Linked DNA regions of Homo sapiens: regions 1 and 3 are each linked to region 2. Evidence: promoter capture Hi-C in 16 types of primary human blood cells and fetal thymus (Javierre and others, 2016). All regions are on one chromosome and are shown on one strand. Each heading gives the region's core, a stretch centred on a gene start or on the middle of the fragment in contact. The rest is flanking DNA. Distances are from core to core; before and after follow the strand shown.

The links. The method cuts DNA at HindIII sites, captures the fragments that hold promoters and counts their contacts. A CHiCAGO score of 5 or more calls a contact.
Region 1: a fragment that was not itself captured here is called in contact with the fragment with the promoter of ZC3H8 in region 2 in 9 of 17 cell types (erythroblasts, total B cells, naive CD8 T cells and 6 more); the score reaches 7.6 in erythroblasts.
Region 3: a contact is called between a fragment that was not itself captured here and the fragment with the promoter of ZC3H8 in region 2, in 1 of 17 cell types (endothelial precursors). The highest score is 5.4, in endothelial precursors.

The regions. Positions count from the first base shown.
Region 1 is chr2:112,484,602-112,489,052 of GRCh38, reverse strand. It overlaps TTL (tubulin tyrosine ligase), which reads right to left. Exons shown (of 7, transcript NM_153712.5): 2 at 3,058-3,136. Among named protein-coding and RNA genes, the nearest start is that of TTL, 4.7 kb to the right of the region's middle. The HindIII fragment of the contact is 3,165 bases long and covers 1-2,937 here.
Region 2 is chr2:112,253,707-112,257,708 of GRCh38, reverse strand. ZC3H8 (zinc finger CCCH-type containing 8) reads left to right here and starts at 2,667. Exons shown (of 9, transcript NM_032494.3): 1 at 2,667-2,801. The coding sequence starts at 2,728. RefSeq lists a cis regulatory region at 683-934 and a silencer at 2,485-2,694. The HindIII fragment of the contact is 1,301 bases long and covers 2,486-3,786 here.
Region 3 is chr2:112,447,819-112,452,426 of GRCh38, reverse strand. No RefSeq gene overlaps it. Among named protein-coding and RNA genes, the nearest start is that of RGPD8, 16 kb to the right of the region's middle. The HindIII fragment of the contact is 3,039 bases long and covers 1,419-4,457 here.

The DNA.
Region 1 (4,451 bases), core at 106-2,605, 230 kb before region 2:
TGCAATGGCATGATCTCAGCTCACTGCAATCTCCACCTCCTGGGCCCAAGCAATTCTCCTGCCTCAGCCTCCCAAGTAGCTGGGACTACAGGCGCCTGCCACCATGCCCAGCTAATTTTTATATTTTTAATAGAGACGGGGTTTCACCATGTTGGCCAGGATGGTCTCAATCTCTTGACATCGTGATCCGCCCGCCTCGGCCTCCCAAAATGCTGGGATTACAGGCGTGAGCCACCACGCCCGGCAATAAATTATTAATTTAATTGCAGCTGTTACTTTTCTTTTCTTTTTTTTTAAGAAGGAGTCTCACTCTGTCTCCCAAGCTGGAGTGCAGTGGCATGATCTCGGCTCACTGCAACCTCCACCTCTCAGGTTCAAGCGATTCTCCTGCCTCAGCCTCCCGAGCAGCTGGGATTACAGGTACCCACCACCATACCCAGCTAATTTTTGTATTTTTAGTAGACATGGGGTTTTACCATGCTGGCCAGATTGGTCTCGAACTCCTGACCCTAAGTGATCTGTCCGCCTCAGACTCCCAAAGTGCTGAGATTACAGGCGTGAGCCACCACGCCCGGCTTGCAGCTGTTTCTCTGCACTTATTTTAATGTGGCTACTAGGCGGTTTATAATTACATGTGTGGGTAGCATCCTATTTCTGTTGGACAGTGCTGGTCTGTAAGATGACCTTGGTTTGGAAGCCCTCATTTCCTGCACAGAACCAAGACCAGGCTCTGCAGGAAGTCCTTTGCTTTTGTCCCATTTCCTCATGGGCCCATTTGGGAAGTAATCAGAAATGGAGATTTATTTACATCTATAAAACAGCAATGCTCAGGAGAGGAAAAGATAGCCTCTGATCTGTACCAGGAGAAGAAAAGCCCCTCAGGGTTCTAAGACTATGGCCTTGAGGCCTCAGTGAAATTTCCGAAACTCCCTGAAGTGACAGGGGGAAGGACTGGGCTGCACAGGGTCTTGCACTGAACCCCACCAAGGCTCTGGGAAGCCTCCCAAGGGTGCACAGTCACAATGGCCAGGGGTCCCATTTGTGCAGATTAAAACTGTCCTGGTTTAACAGGAGCTACTATGGCCATGGGCAACCTGGCTGTCCTCTCTGAACTGCCACTTTGTCCTATAAAATCAAGGAGACTTTATTTCTAACTCTCTGGAGCCCTTTCAAGCCATACAAAATCATGGGAGAGAGACAAATGGATAAAGGGAAGCATCATATCCTGGAATTACTGCAAGCCCCTCACAGGACAACTGAGACAAAGATGGAAGCTGATGAGGATGATGCAACCTCCAGCCTGCATAGGTCATGTCACCATTACAAGGTGCTATCACAGATCACACTGCATGCCTCCGAGGGGCAAGGGGCAGGTACTGTCACCACCATCCATCCCCATTTTACAGATGAGACACGGGGATTCTGAGTGGTGCTCTCCAAGGTCACAGATATTTATCACAGTTGGTCACGACTCCAGCCCTGTACTCACTCTGCTTCACTATAACTGCAAAATATACAAACATGGAAACCATTATTTTTTTACTGAGTCCTCTGCTTCCTACTTTATCTTTAGGGGAAAAATCGTAGCAGAAGAGGTTTAATAAATATTTAATAAGAATTTCTAAGTGAATAATTTGAATAAACAAGCATGTCCCACTTCTATTCCTGATTCCATGTAACAGTCATTTGCATTCTAAATATACAAACATGTCACAAAATGACTTCAGGAAGCCTCACTCTCCTTCAGGAGTGGGATGAATCATGATAAACCCATCACAGAGAGGAGTGGGTACATAAGTTACCAGGGCCAATGAGTGAACAAAAAGCAGAAATGTTCCTGTGAGCACCCAACCTAGTAAATATCTAGAGCCCAGAAAGAAACGTTAGTGGGAAAAGAGCATTTTGCATTGAGTCATATCTTCCAGTACCTGGCTACACACACATGTTCACCAGTCATCATGGAAAGAATACTGGAGGCCCACGACAGCCCTGATTTTAGTGGCCCGACCCAGTGTTTCCTACTGAAACAACAGTAATAGCAATGACAACTATACTAATAGCAATAATAAGGAATGCTTTCACTTATACAGTAGGAACAACAAGACGGGCACAATTCAAAGCCCGTAGCTAAATTAGCTCAATTAATCCTCATAACAACCTTAGGTAGTTATTATTATTTCCCCATTTTACAGCCAAGAAAATTAAGATAGTGTCAAATTCTCATTATGTACCAGGCCACTGTGCTATATAAACTTTACATGCATCACCTTATTTAATTCTCATAATAGCCTTACGAGGGAGGCACTGAGGCTTAGAGGGATGAGGAGATCTGCCCAAGCTAGTGAGAGAAGGAGCTGGGGTGAACACTTACACTTTTCACCCTAGATCTTAATCGTTGTCTAACACCGTCTCCTTCCACTTTGTGATACCTAGCCATAATCCAACTGCTCAGAGATGGGCAGTGCAGTGAATGCTCTTATACCCTGCCCAGATATCCTTTCTGAGGGACCCCTTACAGCCATGAGAGAAGGATGCTACGGGCTATATATGCCCTTCTCTGGGGACCAGCCCCTGCCCAGAAATGCCTGCGAAGCTAAGCCCTCCATCTCTTCCCACAGCCAATGGCTGACTGATACTGGAGCATAGAGGCCTGGTCCTTGCTCAAAATGTGACAACTCTGAGGTGCCATTCACTCTGGTGCTCCTTGGAGTCAGGAGAGGCAAGACTTCAGCTGAAACCACCTCTTTACTTGGTTCTCCCCCTGCCCTGCCCTGTCCTTGCTTCCCGATGGCTGTCTCTTAAGAATCCTACCCCAGGAAATCACTTACACAGGAGACCCTGAGTCAGGCTCTGCTTCTAGGAGCCTCACCTCAGAGGCAGACAGGCTTTATCAAGCACCATGTTTTGGACCGCAACCAAAGCGGCTTAGAGGAAGCTTCTGAACTGATATTTGTTGGCTTTTAAAATAAAAGTATGTTTGTCCTTTAAACAACCCCACATTTTTGCCTAAGTGCTTCATTTAGGTAAAAAATGGAAAACAGCGGTCTTAACACTTACTTCACTAAAGAAGCTTTGCGACACAGTTTGTCAGCACCCCTGTAGTAATTCACCAACTGTACCAGCCCGGGCTCGTGACCTAGGAAGGAAAGAGGAGGCTCAGAAGGGACACAGGACACAGCAAGCAGGAGAGAGGACAGCTGTGTCATGCCCAGCTTTTCTCTCTCTCATCTCAGGATTGGCTGTTAGAAAATGGAAAATGGAACAATTTTGTTTCTCTGTCCCCAGGGACCCTCTTTCTCTCAGTATTCCGCTGGCAACCTTCATTCTCCCCACAGTGGATATTATATCAACATCGTAGGTTTGCCAAAACTGCTGCTACCTTTGTCTGTTTTTTCTTGTTAGGGTAGAGGGTATTGAGGGTATTTTTTCATTTCACCTCTCCCTGACTGCACACTGCATTCCGCTCCTGGCTTAACACATATAGACTTGTCACTCTGTACAATAAGGCTACTTTAACAGTCACGCTTTCCACATCCGTAACCTGGCTTTCCATACCAAGGAAGGAAGGAGAACTAGAATGATGCTGGTCTCAAGCAAGTCTATCTCTGCAAGCTTCTAGGTGAAGGAAGGTAGTGGAGAGGCCATGTCTACAAAATCAGAAGCCCTGAGAGCTTTCTTCTGTGCCGCATTCCATGGGGAAACTCATTTTCAACAGCTCTTATTACATGTGGCTTTTTTTTATAGAATTAGAGCAGAAAGGACACAAAGAAAAACAATTTTTATTAAAAATAAAAAGTGTTTTCAGCCAGACACAGTGGCTCATGCCTGTTATCCCAGCACTCTGGGAGGCTGAGGTGGGTAAGTCACCTGAGATCAGGAGTTCAAGACCAGCTTGGCCAACATGGCAAAACCCCATCTCTACTAAAAACACAAAAACTAGCTGGGCGTGGTGGCGCACACCGGTAATTCTAGCTACTTGGGAGGCTGAGGCATGAGAATCACTTGAACCTGGGAGGCAGAGGTTGCAGTGAGCCAAGATCCCACCACTGCACTCCAGCCTGGGCGACAGAGCAAGACTTCATCTCAAAAATAAAATAAAATAAAAAATGTTTTGTTTCAAATCTTAATAAAACACACTGTATTTCCAGTAACAAAATCAAAGTAAGACCAAAGGAATTTTCAGTTGAAAATGCCAGAAGAAAGAATAATTTCTCTGAGAATGGCATACAGTCAAATCAAAAGTTTCAGGCAGGCATTAGCTGGCTCTCACTGGTCTCCCTGAGCAGACAGACCTGATTCCCACCTGAACTGCCTACATTCTTATCCACAGGGCACCTGCCTTCCTGAGCCTTTACCTAGCTCTATAAATCTTCTCCTTGGCTTTCATGTAGTACACTTTAAGCAAAAGGTAAATATCCCTTAACAGTGATGGCATATAACCAATTTTGTTG
Region 2 (4,002 bases), core at 1,418-3,917:
ACCTCAGAAATCATGCATCATCACTTTTGCCACATTGTATTTGTTAGAAATAAATAAGTAAATCCTATCCACATTAAAGAAGAGGGGACTAAATCTCCAACTTTTGCAGGGAGAAGTGTTAAGGAATTTTTGAACACATTTTAATATGACCACACCATCCACTGATTTTTTTTTTTTTTTTTTGAGATGGAGTCTCACTCTGTCTCCCAGGCTGGAGTGCAGTGGCGCAATTTCAGCTCACTGCAACCTCCGCCTCCCGGGTTCAAGCGATTCTCCTGCCTCAGACTCCTGAGTAGCTGGGACTACAGGCGTGCGCCAACCCGCCCAGCTAATTTTTGTATTTTTATTAGAGACAGGGTTTCACCATTTTGGCAGGATGGTCTCTATCTCTTGACCTTGTGATCCACCGGCCTTGGCCTCCCAAAGTGCTGGGATTACAGGTGTGAGCCACCACGCCCAGCCCCATCCACTGATTTTTAAAAATTTCAGTATTATATTTTTTATTTCTAGAAGTTCTACTTGGTTACTTCTCCCCAATTTCTCTATGACACTTTTTATAGTTTCTTTTTTATTAGTTAGATATTACTATGTAGTAAACTACTTAAAAACTTAGTGGCTTAAAACAAGGACCATTTATTTATGTGGGTTAGTAATTTGGACTGGGATCATCTGAGAGTCTTTGGTTCTCTGCAGGACTCCATCATGTGTGTGCTCAGCTGTATGTTGCCTAGGAGGCTTTGCTTTTAGGGTTTTGCTAGCTGTTGACTGGGTGTTTTCGCTGTCCTCCATTAGCCTTATCTTCTACATGCCTCTCCCTTATCGTCAGCAGGGTAGCCTGAGTTTATTGTCCTGAAGAAGGCAGGCATATAAGAGACAGCAGACACATACAAAGCCTCTTGGGGCCTTGGCTTGGTATTGGCAGGCCACTTCTGCATTCTACTAGCTAAGACAAGTCATTCTATCAGGCAAAATCAACTCAGATTAAAGAGGAGGTGAAATAGATCCTACCTCTTTATGGGAGGAGCTGCAAAGTCACATTGCAAAGGACATGGATACAGGAAAGGTTGGAGAAATTGGGGCCTTTTTTGGCATCAATCTAACACAAACATATGTAGCCTTTTATATAGTCTTTGTCTGAAAATGCTAGTGTCTGATGCCTTTGCAGGTCAGATGTTTTAGCTGCTTTTTACCTACCAATCTAATTTTCATTTGTGTCTGGTTATCTTTTGCTGTATGTTGGATATTTTATATAAAAAAGTGTGTATGGTAACAATTTGGGTTCTATAATAATGCTTCCTGCTAAAGAGGGGGTAATTCTAGTTTTTATCTCCTTAATTCAATTTTTTCTCTGAATTTTTAGTAATGATTCATGTTCCATAGGTGATGGCCTACAATATAAACAACATGGGAAAGTAGAATTTCCCTGGGGAAGATGTCTGGCTTCAAATAGTTCCCTTCACTAATCGGTAAAGGGATCCTGATTCATGCCAAGAATCAAACACTCCCTTCACTTACAGAAGCAAGTCAGGTTCTCTATCACTGGCCCAACCTAGGGTTTGAGCCTTCCTTTCTACAGGTCCCTTAAATGGCATTACATTGAGCAAAACTGAGCAATTTCCTGTTCTGCAACAGCATGCTCTATTTTCCTGCCTTCATACAATTCTCTCTACTTGGAATGCCCACTTCCTCTTTTCCTATGGAAATATCTCAAGACCCAGCTCAAATACTCCCTTCTCAAGAAGCCTTCCCAACTGGATGCAATTTTTTCCCTCTTCTGAATTCTCTTAGTATTTGGTACTTTTTAACGGACTTTTCTGTCTTGAGGTTACTTGTGTATTCATTTTAATTCCCATTCAATTGTAGAGACCCTACAAGTTACATTACCTGACTACACATCTGTTTATTCATTTCAAAACTGTGAATGGTAATAGAACATCTTTTACAGGGCTGTTGTGAGGATTAAGTTAGCTAACATGTGAAACGCTATTTCTAAGGAATAGTAGTGGAGTGCTCAGATAAATGTTAGCTGTTACTACCATCCCTTAGAAATACTGTGATTTTGATGGAAGAGTTTTCACCAAGGTGAAAGCAGAATCCTAACAACTAATTTTAAAAATTCTGGGCTGGGGCCGGGCGCGGTGGCTCACGCCTGTAATCCCAGCACTTTGGAAGGCTGGGGCGGGCGGATCACGAGATCAAGAGATCGAGACCATCCTGGCCAACATGGTGAAATCCCGTCTCTACTAAAAATACAAAAATTAGCTGGGCGTGGTGGCAGACACCTGTAGTCCCAGCTACTCAGGAGGCTGAAGCAGGAGACTTGCTTGAACCCGGGAGGCGGAGGTTGCAGTGAGCCGAGATCACGCCACTGCAGTCCAGCCTGGACGACAGAGCTTGACTCTGTCTTTAAATAAACAAACAAACAAACAAATAAATAAATAAAATAAACAAAATTCTACTATCTGAGGTAAAGGACGAAAAAGCTTACAGAAGGGCAACCACGGCGGCGCCTGCGCAGAGCCGAGGCGAAGGAGGCAGGGAGAGACCCGGCCTGCCCAGAGTCGCGGAGGGCGGTGCAGCGCATGCGCGGGGCAGGTGAGGCTGCGCGGGGCGGAGCCTGTGGCCCTGGCGCGGCTCTGGGTCCGTCTCGTCGCGTCCGGGTTGTCACTCTCTCGGGTTGTTACTCTGTAGCTTCCCGGCTCGCGAAAGGGAGGACCTGTCTGGGTCATGGATTTTGAGAATCTTTTCTCAAAACCCCCCAACCCGGCCCTCGGCAAAACGGCCACGGACTCTGACGAAAGGTGATCCCATATCTTTTCATCTTTTGAATGCAGGGGCTCAGCGGGACTCCGCCTCTTAGTTTCTTCTGGATTGGAGGCAGTCCGGGGCCACGTCCGGGCCGCGTCGCGAGGGCCCGTGGGGAGCACGTGGGCCGGCCGGGCGCCACCGTCTGACCTATAGAGGTCGTGCGGGGTCCGGGTGGGAGCAGAAGCTGAACGCGGGGCTCAGGCTTAGGCCGTCAGGGCCGGGGCTGTCGAGAGCCTGGGCGGGGGAGCGGGGTGGAGGCGAGAAGGCTCCGGGATGCGCCCCTTTCTCTGCACAGCAGCGGGTGAGGAGCCCGCCTCTGTGGTCCCGTAGCGTCTGTCTTTACCGTTGTTGCCTGTTTCCACGAGACCGTAAACTCCCAGAGGACACTGATGTGACCTTTTTCACTGACACCTCCTAGGTTCTTTTCTGTAGAAAGGATGAAACCACAAGTTTATTGAAAGGTAAAGAATAGGCAATACTCTGCCATTAGTCCACTGATTTGCATGGAAAGACCCTAAAGACCACAATAAAGCAACAGACGTCATTTGGACTTAATATTTCCATTAGGTTGGAAAAGCAAGTGAGACTCTTGGTCAGATGGCCCTAATTTGTAGATTATATTTTTGGAGCAGTGTCTAGTGATTTGAAATGCTAAAAACCACCATCTTTGTTCTTAAACCTACGTCTTTTATTTCCCTCAACTGAGATATATTTCCAGTTGTGATTGATTTTACCATTCGATATTGGTCAGCTGTTCACTCTATCTCAAATTTTACCTTAACTGATCATCCAGAGCTTTACCTTGTGCTTTACATGAAATAAATCACTTAATCCTCAAAACAAACTTAAAGAGAAGATGATGCCGTCCTCGTTTTACAGATGGGAAAACTGAGGCACGGAGAGGCTAAATAACCTGCCGAGATTGCACAGTGTAAGTGGAAGAGCTATGTCCAGGATCCATGATTTTATCACCAAGCTTCTCATGCAAAATGACTAAAATTTTAAAATAAGCCCTATAAATATTGGAAAGAGACAGATACACTAATTACTTGCAGATGATATAATTTACTAAGAAAAATAACTGGTACTAATTGATATGTTATAAAATACATAAGAATTCATCACACAAAAAAAAGATAATAGCAACATTTAAAAATCCGAACAGCAGCTATCAGTTTCAAAGTGTGTTGGACA
Region 3 (4,608 bases), core at 1,689-4,188, 190 kb before region 2:
GATGGCCCCCAATAATCCCTGACACCTAGTATTTACAATCTTGTGTAGTCCCCTCCCATGTTACACTAAGTTTAATCTGTGTGTCCAACATCATAGGCAAGAGTGATAGCATGTCACGTCTGAGAATAGATTACAAAAAGACGACAGCCAGTCTTGAGATCTCTCTCTGACCACTTGCTCTGGGGGAAGCCAGTTGCTATGTTGTGAGGTAGCCCTGTGGAGAAACCTATATGGAAAGAACTGAGTGTCTGGCCTCCCAACAACCATACAGTGAGCTTGGAAGTGGATTCTCCAGCCTCAGTCAGGCCTTGAGATGTTGCAGCTCAGGCGGATAGCTTGACTACACCCTCGTGAGACACTCTGAGCCAGAACCACCCAGCTAAGCTGCAGGTGGATTCCTGATCCTCAGAAACTGAGGTAATAAATGCTTGTTATTTTAAGCTGCTATGTTTGAGGGTAATTATTACACACTCTGTTGCTGCATAACGAATTGCTCCAGAGCTTAGTGGCTTAAAACCCCTACGTTTATTAGCTCATAGATTCTTTGAGTCAGGAATCTGGACATAACGTAGCTGGATCCTTGGGCTCTGGTTGCAGTCAAGGTGTCAGCAGGGCTGCAGTTACCTTCAGGCTTGATTAGGGATAGATCAGCTTCCAAGCACTCTCACATGGTTGTTGGCCAGTTTCTACATGGGTTATTAGACTAAAGCTTCAATTCCTCAAAAGCTGTTGGCTGGAAGCCTCTCTTGGTTCCTTACTACATAGGCTTTTCCATTGGGCAGTTTACAACATGCCTGCTGGCCTCACTACAGTGAGCAAGAAAGAGGGTAAGAGATGGTAAGCAAGAAAAAAGCCACAGTCTTTTGTAACTTAATCTTTGAAGTAATATTGTCAGAGGTGTTTGAACCAGAGCGACTCCATATTGAATAGGGGCTGGGTAAAATTAGGCTGAGACCTATTGGGGTGCATTCCCAGGAGGTTAGGCATTCTTAGTCATAGGATGACATAGGAGATCAGCACAAAGTACAAAGACCTTGCTGATAAAACAGTTTGCAGTAAAGAAGCCAGCCAAAACCTACCAAACCCAAGATGGCAATGAAAGTGACCTCTGGTCATTCTCACTGCTCGTTATCCACGAATTATAATGCGTTAGCATGCTAGAAGACATTCCCATCAGTGCCATGACAGTTTACAAATGCCTTAGCAATGTCTGGAAGTTACCCTGCATGGTCTAAAAAGGGGAGGAAACCTCAGTTCTGGGAATTGTCCTCCCCTTTCCTGGAAAACTCATGAATAATCCACCCCTTGTTTAGCATATAATCAAGAAAGAACCGTAAGTGTTCTTAGTCGAGCAGCCCACACCACTGCTCTGCCTATGGAGTAGCCATTCTTTTATTCCTTTACTTTCTTAATAAGCTTGCTGTCACTTTACTCTATGAATTCACTTTGAACTCTTTTTTTGTGTGAGATCCAAGAACCTTCTCTTGGGGTCTGGATCGGGACCCCTTTCCAGTAATAATATTCCATCACTTTTTCCATATTCTATTCATGAAAAGCAAGCAACAGGTCCAGGCCACACTTAAGGGGAGGGGATTACACAAGAGGTTGAATACCAGGAAGTGGAGATCACTGGAGACCATCCTAGGAAGCTGCCTACCATAGTCTGCTCTCTGGTCCCCAGTGATTCACATCCCTCCCTCATGGCAAATACATCTACAACTCTCCAAGAGTCCCCAGAGCCTCACCTCATAACATCAGCTCTAAGTCCAGAATCCCATCATCTAAATCAGGTCCAGGTATGGTTGAGATACATCAGGTGTAGTTCCCCAAGTACAGCTCCTTAAGCACAGTTCCAATTGATCTGTGGATTTCTGAAGCTAAAGAGACGAGATACCTGCCCACCTCCCACACCCAATGTATTAGTCTGTTCTCATGCTGCTAATAAAGACATACCTGAGACTGGGTAATTTACAAAGGAAAGACGTTTAATTGACTCACAGTTCCACAGGGCTGGGGAGGCCTTACAATCATGGTGGAAGGCAAGCGGGGGGAGTAAATCCACGTCTTAAATGGTGACAGACAAAGAGAGAATGAGAGCCAAGTGAAAGGGGAAACCCGTTATAAAACCGTCAGATCTCATGTGACTTATTCACTACCACCAGAACAGCATAGGGGAAATTGCCCCCATGATTCAATTATCTCCCACTGGGTCCCTCTCACAACATATAGGTATTACGGGAGCTACAATTCAAGACAAGATTTGCTTGGGAAAATAGCCAAACCATATCACCCAATATACGATGGTGGGACAGGCACAAGATAATCTCTACACACAAAAAAGGGGCAAATAGGAGGCACACAGGTGTTACTGGTCCATAGCAATTCTGAAATCCAAATTTTAGAACTCAGTCTCATTCCTGCTAAAAATAATTCTCCATGGCTCTTGGCTCCATCCTCTGGACTCCTTATTTTTGCCCTCTGAATCATCCTTTTTTTTTGGAGACACAGTCTCACTCTGTCACCCAGGCTGGAGTGTAGTGGCGCAATCTCGGGCTCACTGCAACCTCCACCTCCCGGGTTCGAGTGATTCTCCTGCCTCAGCATCCCGAGTAGCTGGGACTACAGGCTCCCACCACCATGCCTGGGTGATTTTTGTATTTTTAGTAGAGACGGGGTTTCACCATGTTGGCCAGGCTGGTCTTGAGCTCTTGACCTCAAGCGATCTGCCCTCTTCAGCCTCCCAAAGTGCTGGGATTACAGGTGTGAGCCACTGTGCCCGGACTTTTTTTTTTTTTTTTTAAAGAAAAGGTAGCATCTGTTTTCTCAGCCTGCTTCCTGCTAGAATTTTGGAGGTCCAACAATTCCTTTTTATGTTGTACTGGGTCTGCCTTTTCCACTCCAAACTGACACACAGATTTCTCAGGAAATTTGTGGGTCTTTTTGTTTGCTTGCATAATGTGTTAACTACATTAGACGAAACCCTACAAATCTCTCTGGATAAACCCTTCACTATCTTGAGCTTCTGCTGAGAGGCTGAGGAAAAATACTCTTAAGCTCCCTAGAGGTTTAATTGTTTGAGACAATCTGAGAGCAACACCTTTAATCTCTTTAAAGGGACCTTTGTGTGACTGAATATGACTGTGATCCTTTGGTCTCTCTGAGATTTTAACATTAGATTGTATATACATAGAAATAGGTAACTAATGCAGGCAGCGTTTAGCATTCTCCACTATATAGTGGATATAAAGGCAATTCCCTCTCATTATTCTTTGACTTAGTGTCTTGGTGATTCTGAAGCATTTATTTTTCCATGTAATTTTTGAAATCCTTTTAGCTAGCTCAAACATATTGTGTAAGAACTGCAGCAATATCCATACATTATTAATGTTGGGAGGATTTTTATTCCTATGATAGCGAGTCTCCCCATTCAGATACGGTGTCTCTCAATGTACTTAGTTTTAACGTCCACTACAAAATTTTATTCAAGTTAAACTCATGTCCCTGATGTTATTTTTATTTCACTTTGAATTTAGTTGCTATTCAATGACATGGTTTTCCATTTCCATTTCTGATTTCTGTTCATAGAGAAAACATGTGCAACTATTTAACCAAATTTACTTATTCGTTTAAGATTGTTTTTGTTCCTTTTTTTTTTTTCGAGACAGAGTCTTGCTCTGTCACCCAGGCTAGAGTGCAGTGGTGCGATCTCTGCTCACTGCAAGCTCTGCCTCCCGGGTTCACGCCATTCTCCTGCCTCAGCCTCCCGAGTAGCTGGGACTACAGGCACCCGCCACCACACCCGGCTAATTTTTTGTATTTTTAATAGAGACGGGGTTTCACCATGTTGGCTAGGATGGTCTCGGTCTCCTGACTTCATGATCTGCCCACTTCAGCCTCCCAAAGTGCTGGGATTACAGGCGTGAGCCACTGCGCCCGGCCTGTTTTTGTTTCTTTTCTAAAATATCTTGGATGGTTTTGCCTACTTTCCAACATTTAAATTGATTATTTCTTTTTTTTTTTTTTTTTTTTTTTGAGACGGAGTCTCCCTCTGTCACCCAGGCTGGAGTGCAGTCTCGTGATCTCGGCTCACTGCAACCTCTGCCTCCCGGGTTCAAGTGATTCTCCTGTCTCAGCTTCCCGAGTAGCTGGGATTACAGGTGCACGCCACCATGCCTGGCTAATTTTCTTTTTGGATTTTTAGTAGAAACGGGGTTTCACCATGTTGACCAGGCTGGTCTCGAACTCCTGACCTCAAGTGATCTACCCACCTCGGCCTCCCAAAGTGCTGGGATTCCAGGCATGAGCCACCATGCCCGGCCCCAATTATTTCAATTTTTGATCTAATTATATTCAGTAGAATTTTGAAAAAATATGTTTAATAATGGTGCCAGCTGATATTTCCAGCTTGAAACTGATGGATAAAATTGGCTCTGTGTTTTACTGTTTAGTATAAAGCTTTCTCTTGATGACGAATCATATTTAATCATTTTACTTGGAAACTTTGAAAAAAGATCAGAAACAAGCTTTTTAGTATTTATTGACTTAATTGTATTATCCTAGTTTAAATTGTTGATTTAATATATTGTGATAGTTGAATATTTTTTTAAA